Linked DNA regions of Homo sapiens: regions 1, 2, 4, 5 and 6 are each linked to region 3. The links are contacts of gene promoters, found by promoter capture Hi-C in blood cells and fetal thymus (Javierre and others, 2016). All regions are on one chromosome and are shown on one strand. The core of a region is centred on a gene start or on the middle of the fragment in contact, and the rest is flanking DNA. Distances in the headings are between cores, read along the strand shown. Region 1 overlaps ANO10 (anoctamin 10). Region 2 holds the start of NKTR (natural killer cell triggering receptor). Region 3 holds the start of POMGNT2 (protein O-linked mannose N-acetylglucosaminyltransferase 2 (beta 1,4-)). Region 4 overlaps ANO10 (anoctamin 10). Region 5 overlaps ANO10 (anoctamin 10). Region 6 overlaps ANO10 (anoctamin 10).

Region 1 (2,700 bases), core at 146-2,645, 390 kb before region 3:
GGAAGTCATGTAGATGTCAAAGCTTATGGAGTCTTTCTAAACCTTCTAAGATTATGCCAACCCAATTCAGAGTATATACACTGATAAAGTAAGATATTTATTAGGATAATTTCTGTAATGGTTGTGTTTGTGCACTAAAGTGTCACTCAGGGTTGAAAAGGCAAATCGTGATTTCAGTCAATTACATTCAAGACTGGTTTTACTTTTAATACCTGCAGAGTTATAGCTTAGGACAGAAGCTTAAGAGATCATACCACCACATTTCACTGAGCCTAAGGTTAACTTCTCCCACATTTTAGTACCTCTGAAATTGAATGTATTTTACAGTGGATATCAGGGAGCTGCCATCGTCAACATGTGGACAAATTTGAATGTCAACACTGGGCCATTTCTGGTAGTGTGATTTGGCAACAGCAACTCCTCATGGTTTCAGTCAGTATAGAAAATGAATTCTGGGTGGGGCTATAAACCTTTCATTGACCCCTTTTGATAAGATCAGAAAAAGCACCAGCATGGAAGCTTGCAAATGGATGCCAGCTGCTTGGAAGGAAATCCTGGATAGAGTGGTGAAGCACTGTTTTAAGGACTGCTGCATCACCCACACTGCTGAGGCCACATAAGAGGATTTTGTATTGGAAAATTTGTGCATTGTCAACTCTGAGATAAAACTTGATTTAGAAGTCTTGGACTCTGAATGTTTAAAAGATCTAGTAGTACATGGGGCTGGGCGCAGTGGCTCACGCCTCTAATCCCAGCACTTTGGGAGGCCGGGCAGGTGGATCACCTGTGGTCAGGAGTTCAAGAGCAGCCCGGCCAACATGACGAAACCCTGTCTCTACTAAAAATACCAAAAACAAAAAACAAAAAAACAGCTAGGTGTGGTGGCATGCACCTGTAGTCCCAGCTACTCAGGAGGCTGAGACAGGAGAATCGCTTGAACCCAGGAGGCGGAGGTTGCAGTGAGCCGAGGTCACGCCACTGCACTCCAGCATGGGCGATAGAGTGAGTGAGACTCTGTCTCAAAAAAAAAAAAAAATCTAGTAGTACATTAACAAGCCTATATTTTGCTTATATTTTGTAGGTAGCACAGGAGTGATTATTAAAAAAAAATCTATCTAAAGAAGTTTTAAAAAGAGCCCTTCAAATTAGAATTCTAGGTAATAAGAACACTTTCTTTAATTATTTAATTGGCAGTATTTTTTTTTCTTGGTGGTATATGGGAGAATGGTGTGTCTTACGGTGTCTTACAGTTTTTGGTATCCTAGATTGTTGAAAGAATAATAGTGGGAAGTGTGGTTTGCCTGCATTTCTGAACTTCCTCTCTAGCACCCAGTTTTTGTACTGCTGCTGATCCTGGCTTCTGTGCCTTGCAAATGCCCTCTTCCCCTGCTCAATGCTCCTCCTGTCAGCCTACTTCCTATACTTCCTTTGATGCTCAATCTAAGACAGACTTCCTCTGCCAAACCCTCCCTAGTAAATACTTCCCCATCTAGAGCATTCAGTGTACTTCTATGGAGGTATATCATTTGAACTATACACTTGACTGTACATGGCTGTGGAAATGTTTTATATTTGTTTCATGACTGGGTTCCTCAACTGTAAAAGATTGTAAACTCTTTGTGATAGGGTCTCTGTACCCTATCACAAGTATCGTTTGATAAATACTTGCCGAGTTTATTTTCACTCTGCATTTGCCTGTGCCATTGTTAGAAATTTGAAGACACGTGAAAAACAAGGACAAACAGGGACAAACTGCCCCTCTCTCTAGTGGTTTCTCTACATGAGCCCTGGAACTGTGGTGGAGAAGGCTCAATGTAATCCCCAGGTTTTGGTGTGATTTTTAGCTTCTTCCTCAGTACTCACCACCACCTCAGGTAGTCGGGTCTGGGGACTTACCCCCAGTGCCCAAGCACCACAGCCTCAAGACTGTCGCATTGCAGAACCATTTGACAATGAACGATCATATATGTGTGTTTACCTTATATGCATATAGCAAGGATTAAATTATTTTATAGCACTGAGTACAAGAAATGTTATATCTTATTTTTCTGATTTTTATTCCCCTCTTACCCTACCTGCTGAAAAGGACAGTCCCATTCATATTTTGACTGCTCTTTGCTTCTCCCTGGGGATGCGCAAGAATAAGAGGGAGGATTATATTTTTTGAAAAACAAAGGACAGCATCAGTAAATCTCAGCTATAGTAAGCTGCATAGTCCAGACTACAAAGTAGAGGGAAGGGAATGGCTGGGTTTCCTCTGTGCTAAGCTTTGGACTTGGGATCTTTTAGGCAGGCTTTGAAAGCCACGGGAGGTGGTGTTTATTCCCTACTCTTCCCTCCATATGCCATCCCATCAGAGTTTCTGTTACTTTCTAGGACATGCTGGGGGCAGGTCTCTCCTATTGACACAATTGGTAGGTAACACTGCCATCAGGGATTGTCCTCCCAGGTTAGGTCACATCTGCCCTACTACACAGTTCTTCCCTCAATCAGCTGGATTTTGCAGGGGTGGAGGGCAGTTGGCTTGCCCGCTGAGTACCACCCATCTTCTGGGGAGGCATTAGAAATATCCAAGGTCAGAACAGCCAGTGGCTTCCCAAGAAGTGGGCAGGAAAACTCCCACTGTCTCCTTGCTGTACCTGCCAACAGCCAGTCAGTGGCCAAACCAAGCATCAAGTCTTATCCTGCTGCACATACACA
Region 2 (2,726 bases), core at 191-2,690, 510 kb after region 3:
CCTGACTGTATACTACTCCTCACCTCAGGGCTGTGCTGTTTCCCTCTACCACGAATGCTCTTCTTAAATACGGCTCACTTCATCTCCTTCTGATACCTGCTTAAATCTCATCTTCTCAAAATGGCCTTGTCTGACCAACTTATTAAAATAGTATCCCAACTACAAGTCACTGTTATTTTTTTCCTAGTTGTCCGTCTTCCCCCCAATAGAATATAAACTATAAAAGGAAGAGGCCTTTGTTTTATGCGCTGCTCTATCTCCAGACCCTAGAACAGTAGCAGGCTCTCATAAGAATATGCAGAACAAGATGTTGCACAAAGACAACACATATATATATGTCTCCAATTAAAACTTTTGTCACGGATAACAAAAAAAGCTAAGAAAACAGTTTGAAACCCTGCACGCTCTGCTACTTAGAATGAAATAACTATGCTTTAGAAGGAAATGTTTCATTTAAAAAAAATACACTAACAAATGTCTGGATTCCCTAAAGACAAACATTAATGCTAAGTGCATGCATGCTGCAATTCTGCTGGTACAAAATGCTCTGGTTTATCACAAAAGATCTTCACTAAGCCATTTTCCCAGGAACCACGAAATTCTAGCTAAAGATTCTTAAGGAAAAATAGAGGCAAAATTAACATATTAGTGATATATCGTGATTAGGAAACACACAATATTTCCTACTAGTTGAAACTTCATAGCACCAAGCAAGATAACCGGAAATCGGATCGGGAGTGTCTGCCTCACGGAGACACTGGGAGAGAAAAAGTCCTCAAAGAACTGCACCTCCTTTTCTTGGCGCCAGGCTGGCTACGAGGACTCAGTCCGGAGATGCAGCGGGGTGTGTGGGGTTTGGCAGGAAGAGGCCCGGACTGCGAGTTAGGGGTGTGCCCAGGCCACCTTCCTCTCCCACTGATTTTCTCTCAAGAGAAAACGGAAAGTTGCCTGCGCCTCCTACCCGCTCCCAAAAAGGCCGGGGGAGGGTTGCTGAGGGTAGACCCCTCCCCTTCGCCAAGGCAGGCCTCGGCCCCAGCAGCGCTCCCCAGTTTCCAGCTCACCCGGCTCCCGGTTGATCTCGATGTCGAAGTGGCACTGCGGCCGGTCCTGCGCCCCCATCGCGACCGAGGTGGCGGCAAGAGCTGGGAGAGAGGGGGAGAAAAGCGGTCAGGGCAGGGGCGAGGGCGGGGGCGAGGGCAGGGGCGAGGGCGGGGCTGAGACGAAGTCCGCGCCACGGTGCCTCACGCCGGCCCGTCGCGACAGCGCAGGAGGCCAAGACGAGGCCCCCTCCCGCCCCGGGCCTCGCGGCTCCCACGCAGCGCGCACGCATGCGGGCGAGCTCTTCACCTGGCTGGCCTCCAGCCTGAGCGGGTCCCCGTGAGCAGAAGAGAAAGCACTGCCACTGCAGCCAAACCCCAACGCCGCTAACGGAACGCCGTCTCCTCCCCCAGGCCGGGCCTCCCAATGCCACGCTAAACCCCGCGAGAGTCGGGACAAATACCGCGAGAGTACAGTCTAGATGGGGGTGGTCAACCGAAGGTGGCGGCAGCGGGGGCGTACGCACGGGGGCGTACGCACGGGGGCGTGTCTGGGGAGCTCTCGAGGAGCCTCCAGCCAGCGCTCCTATACCTGCGCGTTCCCTGTTTGCCCCCCCCTTTGAAGTCAGTCGCCCAATCTGAAAGCCGTGGATGCGCCTGCGCCCTCCATCTCGTCAGGTGTGGCTGTGAGCGCCGCGCATTTTCCGATACCGCGAGACTTCTCTGTTTCCGAGCGCTGTGAAGGAACTGAGTGAATTGAGGCTTTGAGTTTTCGTTAGCCAAGACGTTGTGTTGCTCTGTGTTCTTTTTGGCCGGGAGTGGTTATGTCCGTGTCCTACTGTTAGGTCTTTTAGGCTGAAGAATGCGTTCCTTCCCGCTTTGGCACCAGCGTCACTGGCACCGTTTTTGTCCTGTGCTTACTGACCATTCTGCATCTTTTGTGAAGTTTCAGTTCCAGTCTTCTGCCCGTTTTTAAATCTGGTCCTTCGTGTTTAACAGTTCTGGATACAAATGTTTTGTTAGATATATGTATGCTCTGAATGAAAATCTTTTGTTACATAAATGATTGCGAAGTCTTTTTCCCAATCTGGGCCTGTCGTTTCATTGTTTTGACGTTTTTGGCAAAGAAGTTTTTAATTCTGATTAAGTCAATTGGTCAGTTTTATATTTTAATGGTTTGTGCTTTTCCTGTGCTAGGAAATCTCTGCCTACCTCAAGTTCTTGAAGATATTCTGTGTTCTCATATATGTTTTACATAGTCTTTAACGTGTAAGTCTATGATATGATCTAATATCATTAATTTTTGCTTATGTTGTCAAGTAAGTGTCAACATTTTCCTATTGGGATATACAGTCGTTCCATTACCGTTTGTTGAAAAGACTCTTTTTTTTTTTTTTGAGACGGAGTCTCGCTCTGTCGCCCAGGCTGGAGTGCAGTGGCGGGATCTCGGCTCACTGCAAGCTCCGCCTCCCGGGTTCACGCCATTCTCCTGCCTCAGCCTCCCAAGTAGCTGGGACTACAGGCGCCCGCCACTACGCCCGGCTAATTTTTTGTATTTTTAGTAGAGACGGGGTTTCACCGTTTTAGCCGGGATGGTCTCGATCTCCTGACCTCGTGATCCGCCCGCCTCGGCCTCCCAAAGTGCTGGGATTACAGGCGTGAGCCACCGCGCCCGGCCTGAAAAGACTC
Region 3 (3,043 bases), core at 460-2,959:
ATACTCACCAGCATTTGCTATTTTATTTTTTAAGCTGTTTTGTAGTTGTTGTTGTTGTTTGTTTGTTTTTGAGATGGAGTCTTGCTCTGTAGCCCAGACTGGAGTGCAGTGGCGCGATCTCGGTTCACTGCAACCTCCGCCTCCTGGGTTCAAGTGATTCTCCCCTGCCTCAGCCTCCTGAGTAGCCGGGTTTACAGACGCGCACCAACACATCCAGCTAATTTTTGTATTTTTAGTAGAGACGAGGTTTCACCATGTTGGCCAGGCTGGTCTTGAACTCCTGACCTCGTGATTCGCCAGCCATGGCCTCCCAAAGTGCTGGCATTACAGGCATGAGCCACCGCGCCCTGCCTTTTTAAGCTGTTTTAAATAGGTGTATGGTGATATCTCAGCATAGTCTTAATTTGCATTTCCTTTATGGCTAGTGATGAACATCTGTCCTTATTTGCCATCTGTATAACTACTTTGGTAAAATATATATTAATGTCTTCTGTATATTTAAAAACTTATGATCCAGGATACAGTTTATCTTAATATATATACCAAGGTTGCTTGAAAAGAATGTGTATTCTGTTGGTGGGTGAAGTATTATGTAAATATCAATTAGATTAGGATGGTATTAGTGTTGATCTTTTCTATATCCTTGCTGACTTTCTGTCTAGTGTTCTATCAGTTGTTGAGAGAGGGATGCTGAAGTTTCCAATTACAGTTGCAGAGTTGTCTATTTCTAATTATGGTTCTATCATTTGATTTATTTATGTTAAGGCTATGTCGTTAGGTGTATCCACATTTAGAATTATGTCTTCTTGGTGAATTGAACCTTTTATCATTATATAATTATCCCTTTTTTATTCTTGGTAATTTTCCTTGCTGTCAATTCTACTCTCTCTGAAAGTAATATCACCACTTCAGCCTTTCAGTTTATTATCATCTAAACAACACTATTCAGCCTTTGCAGTCATCCACAATTATTAGAATTTCTTGGTTAGAGGCTTTTGACTACATGTTTTTAAAGGTTTTTGGCTGTATTGACAAATTGCCCTGCAAAAATTTACCAACTTAATACCTTAACATTTGGGCTAATTTAAAATAATCATAAATTAAAGTCAGGGCTTTCCCAATTTGATAGGTAGAAATCTTATAACTCTATGGAGGTGGAGTTGGTGGTGGTAGGTGCATCTCTAGATGACTTAAGTTCAAAAAAAGTCAAGAGATCTAAAAAAGAAGTCAAAAGATCTAAAATTCATAACTCAAGAAATAGGGGCATATGTATATTCGGAGAATCCGCGGGAATGCCAGATGCCACAGCCATAAGTAGCTGCCCTTGAGGACTGGACAGCCAGGACTGGACGGTGGGATAAGGTGACAGCTGGTTAATGGAATGGTGCCGCAGAGGACTGGTGCTTTTGTAAGTTCTCTGTAGCATTACAATTTTTAAAAGCATGTAAACGTATTAATTACCTTGACTTTACAATGACATTTGGTTGTTGGTTAAACTTGCATTTAAATTTATTATCAGAACTGCCATAACTGTGTAATCCTAACACTAAGTAAAACTCAGCCTCTCGGCGCAAATTATCACTCCCAACATTCCGCAGGCTGGTGGCGGCGCGGGCTGTCCTCGTACGCAAAACTACACCTCCCAGGATTCCGCGAGCCAAGGTTGTGGCCGGGGCCAGGGCAACCGAACTCGCGGCTCTGCGCAGGCGCACAGGCTCCGCGCCGGGCTCGCCCGCCGGGCAGGCGCACGGCGGACACCTGCGAGCCTGGAGGTGGCGGTCGCTGCGAACCCGGCGGCGCGGCCAAACCTGTGCTGGCTGCCTGGGCCTTCTGGGCCTCCTGGGCCAGAAGCTGGCGCTGGGGGCGGCGGCGGGGTGGGAAAGCGGCGCCGCCGTGGGGCCTCCTGGACGCGTCGGCGGAGGTGGCTTCGTCCCGCGGAGTCCAGGCTTCAGGTAAGACGCGCGCGCGCTTGGGGCTGGAGCGGACTCCGACACCCGCCTGGGACTTGAAGTGGAGGTGTCGAACCCTCGGCCCCCTGGAGGGGACGACGCGGTGCTGGGCCCCGGGGTGAGGGGGAGGTTCTAGGACGCCTTCGGGATCCAGGAGAGTTTGCAGAACTGAGGGGTGACGTGTGAAGCGAGCTGAGGGAGGCGCGGGAGGTGGGCGGGGCGGGGGTGGACCCTCAGGGTCGGGGGCCGGGGATTGGGGGTCGGGGGCCGGGGGCCGGGGACCTGGGCAACGCCCTGGGGCTTGCCAGTTCGAGCCCTCAGCTCGTGGCAGGCACTGGCGTCGGGTCCTCAGGCCCTTTTGCTTTGGGAGGTGATGGGTGGTGCACATTTGGCGGGGGTGGTGGGGAGCCACGCGAGGTGCGCGGAGCGGGCCTGGGCCTCCCCAACTGCCTTTGAAGGCAGAACCCCGGCAGGCCTGCAGCTGATTCCTGGGCGCTTTGGGGGCCAGTAGGGCACCTACCATGTGTGTCCGGTGGTAAGAGCTTGCCACGGCCTGCTTGGCAGTGCCAGAGTAGCCTCTGAAGAAGGAACCCAGTGAACTCCTGACTCCATGTGTGTGTTTAGGAACCCGTCTCCAGCTCACTGATGGGAACTCTCTGCTAAAGTATGTGACCGTCAGGCCAGAGTCTTGCACCAGGTGCAGGGCGACCAGTGTCTGCCTACTTTATTGCCAGCCAACACTTAGAGCGTACTCTTGGGAGAAGCAAGGCTCCGCGTGGAAAAGGATGACTTCAGGGTTATGGGGCGAGCTTGATAGGACTTAGTAGCTAAGAGCATAGACAGAGGAGGTTTCATTCACCAAATGTTTACTACAATATGTGCCCCGCCTTCAAATCTTGGTTCTCGGCTACTAGCGGTGTGCGTTTAAGCAAGTCACTTATCCTCTCTTAGCCTCTGTTTCTTTCTCTGTGAAGTGGAGATGAAAGTACAGTGCCTTTATCACGGGGTTGCAGTGGGGATGAAATAGTGCCAGGCAAGTCCTCAGCCCAGTATGTCTAACAGTAAGTGTGTGGCAAATATCAGCAGTCGTGGTG
Region 4 (3,014 bases), core at 285-2,784, 430 kb before region 3:
CCTGCCATCGTTACAGTTTTTTTCTTCTGCCAGAATTACAAAGCTGCCATAGTAATTGTTGTTAAAAAAACCTGTTCTTTAAGGTATCCTTCTGTATTTTCACATAACTTGTTTTATTTCCGTTTTAAAAATTTTTTCTGAATTTCTAGTCAGTGCTGGAGATACAAAGAAAATAAATTCACCCTTCTTTTGGAAGAGCTGGACTCACAAGCAAGATCATTTCAGTACAGTTTTTGATACCTCTTTTCTTATTTTTTTTCCTCAGTTAAAATGCTGTTCTTAAATTCATATTTGTCAATGTGTAGACCCTGTTCAATAACCCATTTCTTTAGGAATGGTTTCCCACATTAACAATACCCCAAACTCAAAATGCTGTGTTAGTATGCTACGTCAAATTTCACTTTTAGAAACACTTAGCTGTTTTTTTTATACTGAAATTTTATATCAAAAATAGGGCCAGGTCTAACTATCATTTTTTAGTATCATAGACATTTATGTATTTTGGGTTTGGTGAAATGGTATAAATTTGACCAGATCTTAATGTTTCTAGTTATTTTGATATGTTGTATTTGTTCTTATGTCTTGTTACTTCTGTCCCCCCACCCTTTTTAGTCTGTAGCTTAAAAGCTTCAGAGGGTCTTTAGTTTCTTTTGTAGTCCTCCAGGGTGCCATGTGGCTAAGACTGGATTAAATTAGAAACTATGTGACGGTGGTTTGTGGACTCCAGGGTGCTTACAGATGTAAGATGTTAATACTACTACTATAATTTCCTCCTAACTAATAAAATGTGTTCCCAGTCCCATTATGTTATGTTACTGAAATCGACTATTTCTAAGGATATTAAGAACAATGAACAGAAAAGAAAGGTTTTTGAATATTGGTTACTTTCTAAGAAAATTTCTTCCTATCTGACGTATATTAGTTACGTGTGTGTGTGTGTGTGTGTGTGTGTGTGTGTGTGTGTGTGGTTTATAAAGTATGCCTGCTCTGAGCCTGAGATCATGGTTCTGCTCTGGTGGATGGAGCAGGAGGTGGAAGGTGAGCTGCAGAATGTAAAGATATGGTTGCCCCCAAGCTGTCATCATTGGGCCCCAGCTGTGACCATTTTTAGGAAGCTTGTAATGCTTCTATTATCCTTTCCATTTCAGCACTTCACACAGAACTAATTGGCACCATCTGTGCTAATAATTAAGCCTGTGATGTGGTCACTGGTGCACAAGGAACTCAGGTTGAGGGAATATTTCACAGCAAAAAGGAGGTGGGATATGAGTAGAAAGAATACAGTTTGTTGATATTCTTTTATGCTGGAAAAGGAAACCCAAGGAAAGAGGAGCTCTCTGATAGACCAATGATATTCTTCCACAGCCTATAAGCCTCTTACCCACTGAGTGTGTAGGAAGGACATATGAGCAAGATGACAGGTAGAGCTCTTGGCATTGTCTTCTCTTTGCTATTAAATTTGTCCCGGAGATTGCTGTAATATACATCTAGTCTACGTTTGGACATTAAAACTTAACCGAGGATGGTTGCCAAGGACTCAGAGTAAGGTGAAAGGTGAGGGCTTTTTTTTTTTTTTTTTTTTTGAGTGATGAAATTGTTCTGTATCTTGATTATGGTGATGGTTTCACAGCTGGGTGCATTTATTAAAACTGAAAGTGCTATACACCAAGATGAGTGATTTTCTATTTAAGTTAAAAGGTAAATTTTAAAATGTATAAAAACTTGTTGAAAAAATGCTTTAGAAAATCTTTTGTGGCTTAGGACATGTTTACAAGATGAAAAAAGTAGATTTTTTTTCTTTTTCAAAATTAAGAACAAGGCAACCGAAAACCAGTTAATCTAAAATTTGATTTTATATAGTAAATGGCTCCTTTCAAACACCAAATAAGATTTTATAATTGAATTTTTAGGCATATTGCTGAAAGGAACAAAAGAAGAGGGCTTTTAAGCTTTTCTTTCTTTGAGCCCCAGAACTCCATTTTACCATTAAAGGAGCTGCTCATCTTGAGTATTGTTTTGCTGATGAGAGGAAATTAATGAGGTGAGGCATCATTCTCATACATTTGAGAATTCACTGATCAAACTTAAGAACAAAAATGATCTATTGTTTTATGTTTTAACACTCTTTCAAAATGTAGGTCATGTCCATAAATGCAAATGACTATGTAGAAAGTAATATGCTACTGCTGCTAACCGTTTTGAGGGCACAGGGTATTCATGTGCTTCTAGAATCATCAGGATTTGCAGAAGGGCAATAGGAAGTGGCACACTGGGAGTGATTGAGAATTCTAGTGCTCTAATGAGTGAGGGATCACAGTTGATATCAGTGGAATCATTAATAAATATAAAGTTTGTATTTGGTACTTTTTAAAGAAATAATTTCAAATTGAAAGAAGCATTTTAAACAACTTGGAATGTTACATTTACTTTTGTGTTTTACTTTTATCAGGAATGTTTAAATAATCTACAAAGTATCCTAAGCCAAGAAACTTTTTAAGAGTTTAAGCTGAAGAAGCGTTTTTAAAATACAAAAGACTAATAAGTATGTGATTATGGTCCAAGTGAAAGTTAATTTGTCAATTGGATAACAAACATTTGTCAGTACTTATCTTATAGTTTTTATGCTTTAAAATGAGGGACAACAGACTTTCAAAACTAGGGTGCCAAGTCCTGCTTATTCATTCCTCTTCAGGAGAGTTTTATAATCTTTAAAGTCTTTGGGAAGACTTAAAGAGACTTAATCTTTAAAGCCTTTATCAACTGATATCATAGTTACTAGTTTACACAGTAGCTGAGATTAATGGAATTTGGATTTTCAGGATTTTTCTCCTGGTTGTCTTTGTCACTGTGTTACTAAAATTTACTGTCATTTATACTCACAGTGCTACTCTAACTGTGGCCCACACTGTGCTGGTCTGAGAACTGTTAGTAGTTCACAGTAAAATAAGGAGCTCATACTAAAATATAAATCAACATCCTGCTTCCTTCCTTAAGAATGTCTAGGAGGCCAGGCG
Region 5 (2,719 bases), core at 6-2,505, 410 kb before region 3:
TATAGGAGGACAAACAAGCAAACAAGTAATGGCTCCAAATGAAACCAAATGTATGAATTAGATTCCATCAAAGATCCTCTGGAATGGACATCAGAAAGTTGGACGGTGCCCCATTGCAACCAGAGGATTCTCCCCTCAGTGGCAGGATCACAAGAATAAATTTGCTTGTCCATCTTAGTTAGAGTATCTTGAGGGCATCTGTTTTGTGAATTGATATATATTCTCAATTGAAAAAGAAGTAGTGTGCTCCAGCGGTGAGTTTGTAATCTAATTGTATGTAATGTGCTCTGTGGATATGATTACAGAGACTGATGGAAGAGCTAAAGGGAAACAGAATACAGGGGATGTTATAAATAAGGCACAATGCTGTTAATTTTTAAGAAACTGCTTTCTGCAATGTCTTGAGGGATCTTGCCTACTGGGGGAACCAGCCCCTGATATTTCAACGTAGGTTCTTTTCTATTTTCCCTAAGTGTTGGCTGGTCTGAGAAATAAAGGAAAAGAGTACAAAAGAGAGAAATTTTAAAGCTGGGTGTCCGGGGGAGACATCACATGTCAGCAGGTTCCATGATGCCCCCTGAGCCGCAAAACCAGCAAGTTTTTATTATGGATTTCAAAAGGGGAGGGGTGTACGAATAGGGTGTGGGTCAGAGAGATCACATGCTTCAAGGGCAATAAAATATCACAAGGCAAATGGGGGCAGAGCGAGATCACAGGACCAGGGCGAAATTAGAATTGCTGATGAAGTTTCATGTCCCACTGGACACGCATTATCATTGATAGCATCTTATCAGGAGACAGGGTTTGAGAGCAGACAACCGGTCTGACTAAAATTTACTAGGCAGGAATTTCCTAATCCTAATAGGCCTGGGGGCACTACAGGAGACCGGGGCTTATTTCATCCCTTATCGACATATAAGACAGACATTCCTAGAGCGGCCATTTTAGAGACCTCCCCCTAGGAAAGCATTCTCTTTCTCAGGGCTGTTCCTTGCTGAGAGAAAGAATTCAGTGATATTTCTCCTATTTGCTTTTGTAAGAAGAGAAATATGACTGTTCTGTCCAGCCCCTCAGGCAGTCAGGCCCCATGGTTATCTCCCTTGTTCCCTGAAAATCGCAGCCATCCTGTTCCTTTTGGATGCCCAGATTTCATATTGTTCAAACACACATGCTCTACAAACAATTTGTGCAGATAACGCAATCATCACAGGATCCTGAGGCGACATACATCCTCAATTTACGAAGATGATGGGATTAAGAGATTAAAGACAGGCATAGGAAATTATAAGAGTGTTGATTGGGGGAGTGATAAATGTCCATGAAATCTCCACAATTTATGTTCAGAGATTGTAGTAAAGACAGGTGTAAGAAATTATAAAAGTATTAATTTGGGTAACTAATAAATGTCCATGAAATCTTCACAATTTATGTTCTTCTGTCACAGCTTCAGCAGGTCCCTCCGTTCAGGGTTCCTGACTTCCCACAACACTTGCCCAGATAGGATAGGACTGAGCTTCTGTATTATTCCCCTCACTCTGCAGCATACGTGTGTTTAAAATTCCTGCCTTTGAGTTATGTGCTTAAGCTAAATGTTGCATTTTTTCACAAAACAATCACAGAAAGACTGTAAACTGGTGCTGGACAAAGTGTGATCTGCAGACTGGTGTTAGTCCACAAAGTATTTTTTACCAGCCCACAATCAGATAAGCACAGAAATGGAAGGTGTTTACAAACTCCTAAGGCAGTTTGATGCTGCTGCAGTATTTAAGCACACAATCAGTGGGCTTATCCTGTTAACCAAGGTAAACCAATTAGGGTAGTGCTCAATTTGTATGATGATCTGCATGAGATGCAAGCTCATTTTGGTCACACGTAGTATGCATTAGTTTGCACAATAACACAGACTGGGTAGCTTAAAGAACAAAAATCCAAGCAAGGTGCCAACAGGGTAGGTTCCATTCTGAGACCTTTTTTCCTAGCTTTTAGATGGCCACCATCTTGCTATATCCTAACATGACCAATTCTTTGTGTGTACTCAAAGAGAATGAGTATGTGAGCTCACTGGTATCTCTTCATGTAAGGATGATAGTCCTATCATATCATGGCCCCACCCTTATGACCCCTTTCAACTTTAATTACCTTCTTGTAGGCCCTGTCTCCAAATACAGCCACATTGGGGGTTACAGCTTTAACATGAATTTGTTGAGGGCAAGGGGGCATTCAGTCCATAGGACAGTAGGACCATAATGGACTGGGAATTTAAAAATTGGTCCTTCACCTCAGATAGTTCAAGCAGCACTGTAGGTATAATTAAGCTAAACACAACTGGATATTACTAATATAAAAACTAGAAAAAATTTGCTTTAGGTTACAAATGTTTGAATATTTATCAAATTCATATAATCTTGACATTCAATAAAATTGTTTTGTGTAAAACATTGAATGTTTACAAGAGATTAGATTATAAAAACTTGATTGGATACTGAAAAAAATGTACTGATTAGTTAATTCCTACAGAGGCCTGGGCTTAAGCTTGATGTAATTACAGCATGGTAGCTGTTCTTATAGCATAGCTCTCCTGCCTGTGCAGCCGACTCATAAATCTATGCATCTCCCTGCTGGCCCTGGCCTTCTGGCTTCCTGAAGACATGTCCCCATGGCCATTCCATAAATACCACTATCTCAGCCATTCAGAAGAAGGCATGTCACCTCCCTGGAG
Region 6 (2,741 bases), core at 153-2,652, 290 kb before region 3:
TTATCAAACATGGGCCGGGTGCGGTGGCTCATACCTGTAATCCCAGCACTTTGGGAGGCTGAGGCGGGTGGATCACGAGGTCAGGAGATCGAGACCATCTGGCTAACATGGTGAAACCCCGTCTCTACTAAAAATACAAAAAATTAGCCGGGTGTGGTGGCAGGCGCCTGTAGTCCCAGCTACTTGGGAGGCTGAGGCAGGAGAATGGCATGAACTTGGGAGGCGGAGGTTGCAGTGAGCCAAGATTGCGCCACTGCACTCCAGCCTGGGCGACAGAGCGAGACTCCATCTCAAAAAAAAAACCTTATCAAACGTGAAGCGAAGAAAGAAAAAATAATTGTAAAAATGAAAAGAGCTTTAGTGAACTATGGGACATCATCCAGCAATTGGGAATTTCCTCAACCTGATGAAGGGCATCTATGAAAAGTCTAAAACTGGTGTCATACTTAGTGATGAAAGACTGAATGCTTTCCCCTTGGTATAAGGAACAATAAAAGGGTGTCTATTCCTACCACTTCTTTTCAACATTATGCCGAATGTTCTGGCCAGCGCCATCAAGCAAAAAAAAAAAATAAATAAATAAATTAATAAAAGGCATTCAGAATAGAAAGGAAGAAGTAAAAAACTGTCTACTCACAAATGACATGATCATCTGCACAGAAAATCTGATGGATCTGCAGAAACTAGAAGTCGTCATTTGCAGGTTGTCTGTGGCTGCTTTTGCACCCCAGTGGGAAAGTTGAGTCATTGTGACAGAGACTATATGGCCCAAAAGCCTCAAATATTTACGTCCAGCCTTTTAATAATATTTTGCCAACCCCTGTTCTATAGATTCAGTATAATCCCAATAAGAATCTAAGTAGGCTTTTTTTTTTTTGTAGAAGTTGATGAACTTGCTTCTAAAATTCATATGGAAATGCAAAGGACCTAGAATAGCCAAAGCTTTTAAAAAGAAGAACACAATTGGAAGACTACTTGATTTCAAAGCTTATTATACAGGGGGGAATAGTGTAGATTAACGGAGCAGAATAGAGTTCGGTGATAACCTCACACATGTATGTACTACTGATTTTTGACAAAAGTGCAAAGACCATGCAGTAGAGAATAGTCTTTTCAATAAACGGTTCTGGAACAATTGGATATTCATGTGCAAAAAAATGAACATGGACCCATACATCATACCAAAATGGATTATAGACGTAGATGTAAAATCTAAAATTCTAAATCTTCCAGAAAAAAAGATAAAATATTTGAGATCTTACATTAAAATATTTGAGACCTTACATTAGGCAAAGATTTCTCAGCTACAATTCCTAAAGTATGATCCATAAACGTATGATCCACAAATCGATAAATGACACTTCATCAAAATTTAAAACTTCTGCCCTTCCAAATCTTGTCATCTATATAATGAGAAAGCTAAAAGAAAAGCAGGAGAATCTGCTAGAAAACTTTCCTAGGGTCCTCTGATTGTTAAAAAACTGATAATTACCCTGATAATTACCTGATAATAACATTGATTATTACCATCTCTGGGCTGGAGATGAACTGTATTAGAGAATTCAGCTACCCACCCTCTTCCCTCTCACCTCAGTCCCCCTTACCTTGTACCCTTTCTTCACTAGGAGAAAAAGCCAAGCAGCAAAAGAGTCCAGCAAAATCATAGTTTCCTAAAATAAGAAAACTTTTTACGAAAAGCCACATAAGAGTGGACCTCTCTTGAATACCAGAAGATATGGAAATTTAGGCAATTGGGAAGAAAAGTGGTTTGGAGCCAAGCAGCACTCCTAGATTTTTACCCTAAGACCTAAGCTTATTAGTGGTAGGACCTTGCCCATGTCAGTTACTACATCTGTAAATGGGAACACTGTGAGAATTAGAGATCAGGGCTTCAAAGTGCACCCCCACCCCTCCACCCGGGGCAGCTCAAGGTGGCCTTCTCTTAACCACTGTTGCGTTTTTCAGTTGTGCCAAGATAGGCTGCTTAGGTTTCTTCACTACCATGGGAAATGATTCTGTAAAATGGGAAAACTAAATGCAAGTGTAAGGGCGTTGTTGTTGTCGTTTTCACTGTTTCCTATAAATTCTACATCTTCTTACTGGAAGAGAAGATCTAGGCTCTAACTCTTTAGAGGAGATTAAACATTCCTGTGCAGGATGGAAAAAATTCAGGAAGGGAGCCAGGAAAACAAATATCCTGAAGAGGCTTAGGGTCAAGAGGTGAGGGTGGGAGAATTTGACACAAGGGAAAAAGAAAAATGCAGAGCTACTGGTGGTATATTTATGACAGGAAGGTTTTCCCATAGAGGATAGAGCTGGACTTTTCAAGGGGTGGCTGCCTGCCAGGCCTTAGTACAAGAAGAAGAGATCATAGGCAGGTCACAGGAAATGTGCTGCTGACCATGAGAGGTGGTGATGCCTGGGGGTAGGGACCAGAGGGGGACAACGTCTAAGGCCCCTCTTCCAGGGAGGCCAAACAGGAAGGATGTTGTCTCATTAGCACGGATTTCCAAGATGTGAAAGCATATCTACCAACACTTATCAGGCCTACCAGCCACCCTAAACTTCCCCCAATTCTCATGCAAATGAAGTGACAGAAAAAAAAAGTTATGATACCCTGTGAGTGTTCACAGCCTTTTCCCACCCCCAGGGGTGTTCATTCTCTCCTAGCTCAGTTCCTAGGCTTATGTATAGGGCAGAAAAATTAGGGGCTGGGCAGCAGGTAGAGGGGGTCTTGAGGT

The links. Contacts are between HindIII fragments. The CHiCAGO score rates a contact against its expected background, and 5 or more counts as called.
Region 1: a fragment that was not itself captured here is called in contact with the fragment with the promoter of POMGNT2 in region 3 in 4 of 17 cell types (activated CD4 T cells, non-activated CD4 T cells, naive CD4 T cells and 1 more); the score reaches 5.7 in activated CD4 T cells.
Region 2: the fragment with the promoter of NKTR here is called in contact with the fragment with the promoter of POMGNT2 in region 3 in 7 of 17 cell types (non-activated CD4 T cells, total CD4 T cells, activated CD4 T cells and 4 more); the score reaches 9.7 in non-activated CD4 T cells.
Region 4: a fragment that was not itself captured here is called in contact with the fragment with the promoter of POMGNT2 in region 3 in 1 of 17 cell types (total CD8 T cells); the score reaches 5.9 in total CD8 T cells.
Region 5: a fragment that was not itself captured here is called in contact with the fragment with the promoter of POMGNT2 in region 3 in 3 of 17 cell types (total CD8 T cells, total CD4 T cells and non-activated CD4 T cells); the score reaches 6.9 in total CD8 T cells.
Region 6: a fragment that was not itself captured here is called in contact with the fragment with the promoter of POMGNT2 in region 3 in 2 of 17 cell types (fetal thymus and non-activated CD4 T cells); the score reaches 6.2 in fetal thymus.

What each region holds. Positions count from the first base shown.
Region 1 is chr3:43,498,167-43,500,866 of GRCh38, reverse strand. The region is part of intron 11 of ANO10 (anoctamin 10); the gene reads left to right. Among named protein-coding and RNA genes, the nearest start is that of ANO10, 120 kb to the left of the region's middle. The HindIII fragment of the contact is 1,748 bases long and covers 522-2,269 here.
Region 2 is chr3:42,599,400-42,602,125 of GRCh38, reverse strand. It overlaps NKTR (natural killer cell triggering receptor), which reads right to left and starts at 1,440. Exons shown (of 17, transcript NM_005385.4): 1 at 1,348-1,440; 2 at 1,062-1,142. The coding sequence starts at 1,119. It also overlaps a transcript of SEC22C not described here. RefSeq lists a silencer at 1,137-1,346. The HindIII fragment of the contact is 13,164 bases long and covers 1-2,726 here.
Region 3 is chr3:43,104,745-43,107,787 of GRCh38, reverse strand. It overlaps POMGNT2 (protein O-linked mannose N-acetylglucosaminyltransferase 2 (beta 1,4-)), which reads left to right and starts at 1,709. Exons shown (of 2, transcript NM_032806.6): 1 at 1,709-1,952. RefSeq lists a silencer at 1,622-1,941. The HindIII fragment of the contact is 5,763 bases long and covers 1-3,043 here.
Region 4 is chr3:43,535,565-43,538,578 of GRCh38, reverse strand. All of the region lies in intron 11 of ANO10 (anoctamin 10), which reads left to right. Among named protein-coding and RNA genes, the nearest start is that of ANO10, 85 kb to the left of the region's middle. RefSeq lists an enhancer at 1,499-2,433. The HindIII fragment of the contact is 834 bases long and covers 1,118-1,951 here.
Region 5 is chr3:43,516,890-43,519,608 of GRCh38, reverse strand. All of the region lies in intron 11 of ANO10 (anoctamin 10), which reads left to right. Among named protein-coding and RNA genes, the nearest start is that of ANO10, 100 kb to the left of the region's middle. The HindIII fragment of the contact is 2,558 bases long and covers 1-2,534 here.
Region 6 is chr3:43,393,908-43,396,648 of GRCh38, reverse strand. All of the region lies in intron 12 of ANO10 (anoctamin 10), which reads left to right. Among named protein-coding and RNA genes, the nearest start is that of SNRK-AS1, 43 kb to the right of the region's middle. The HindIII fragment of the contact is 825 bases long and covers 990-1,814 here.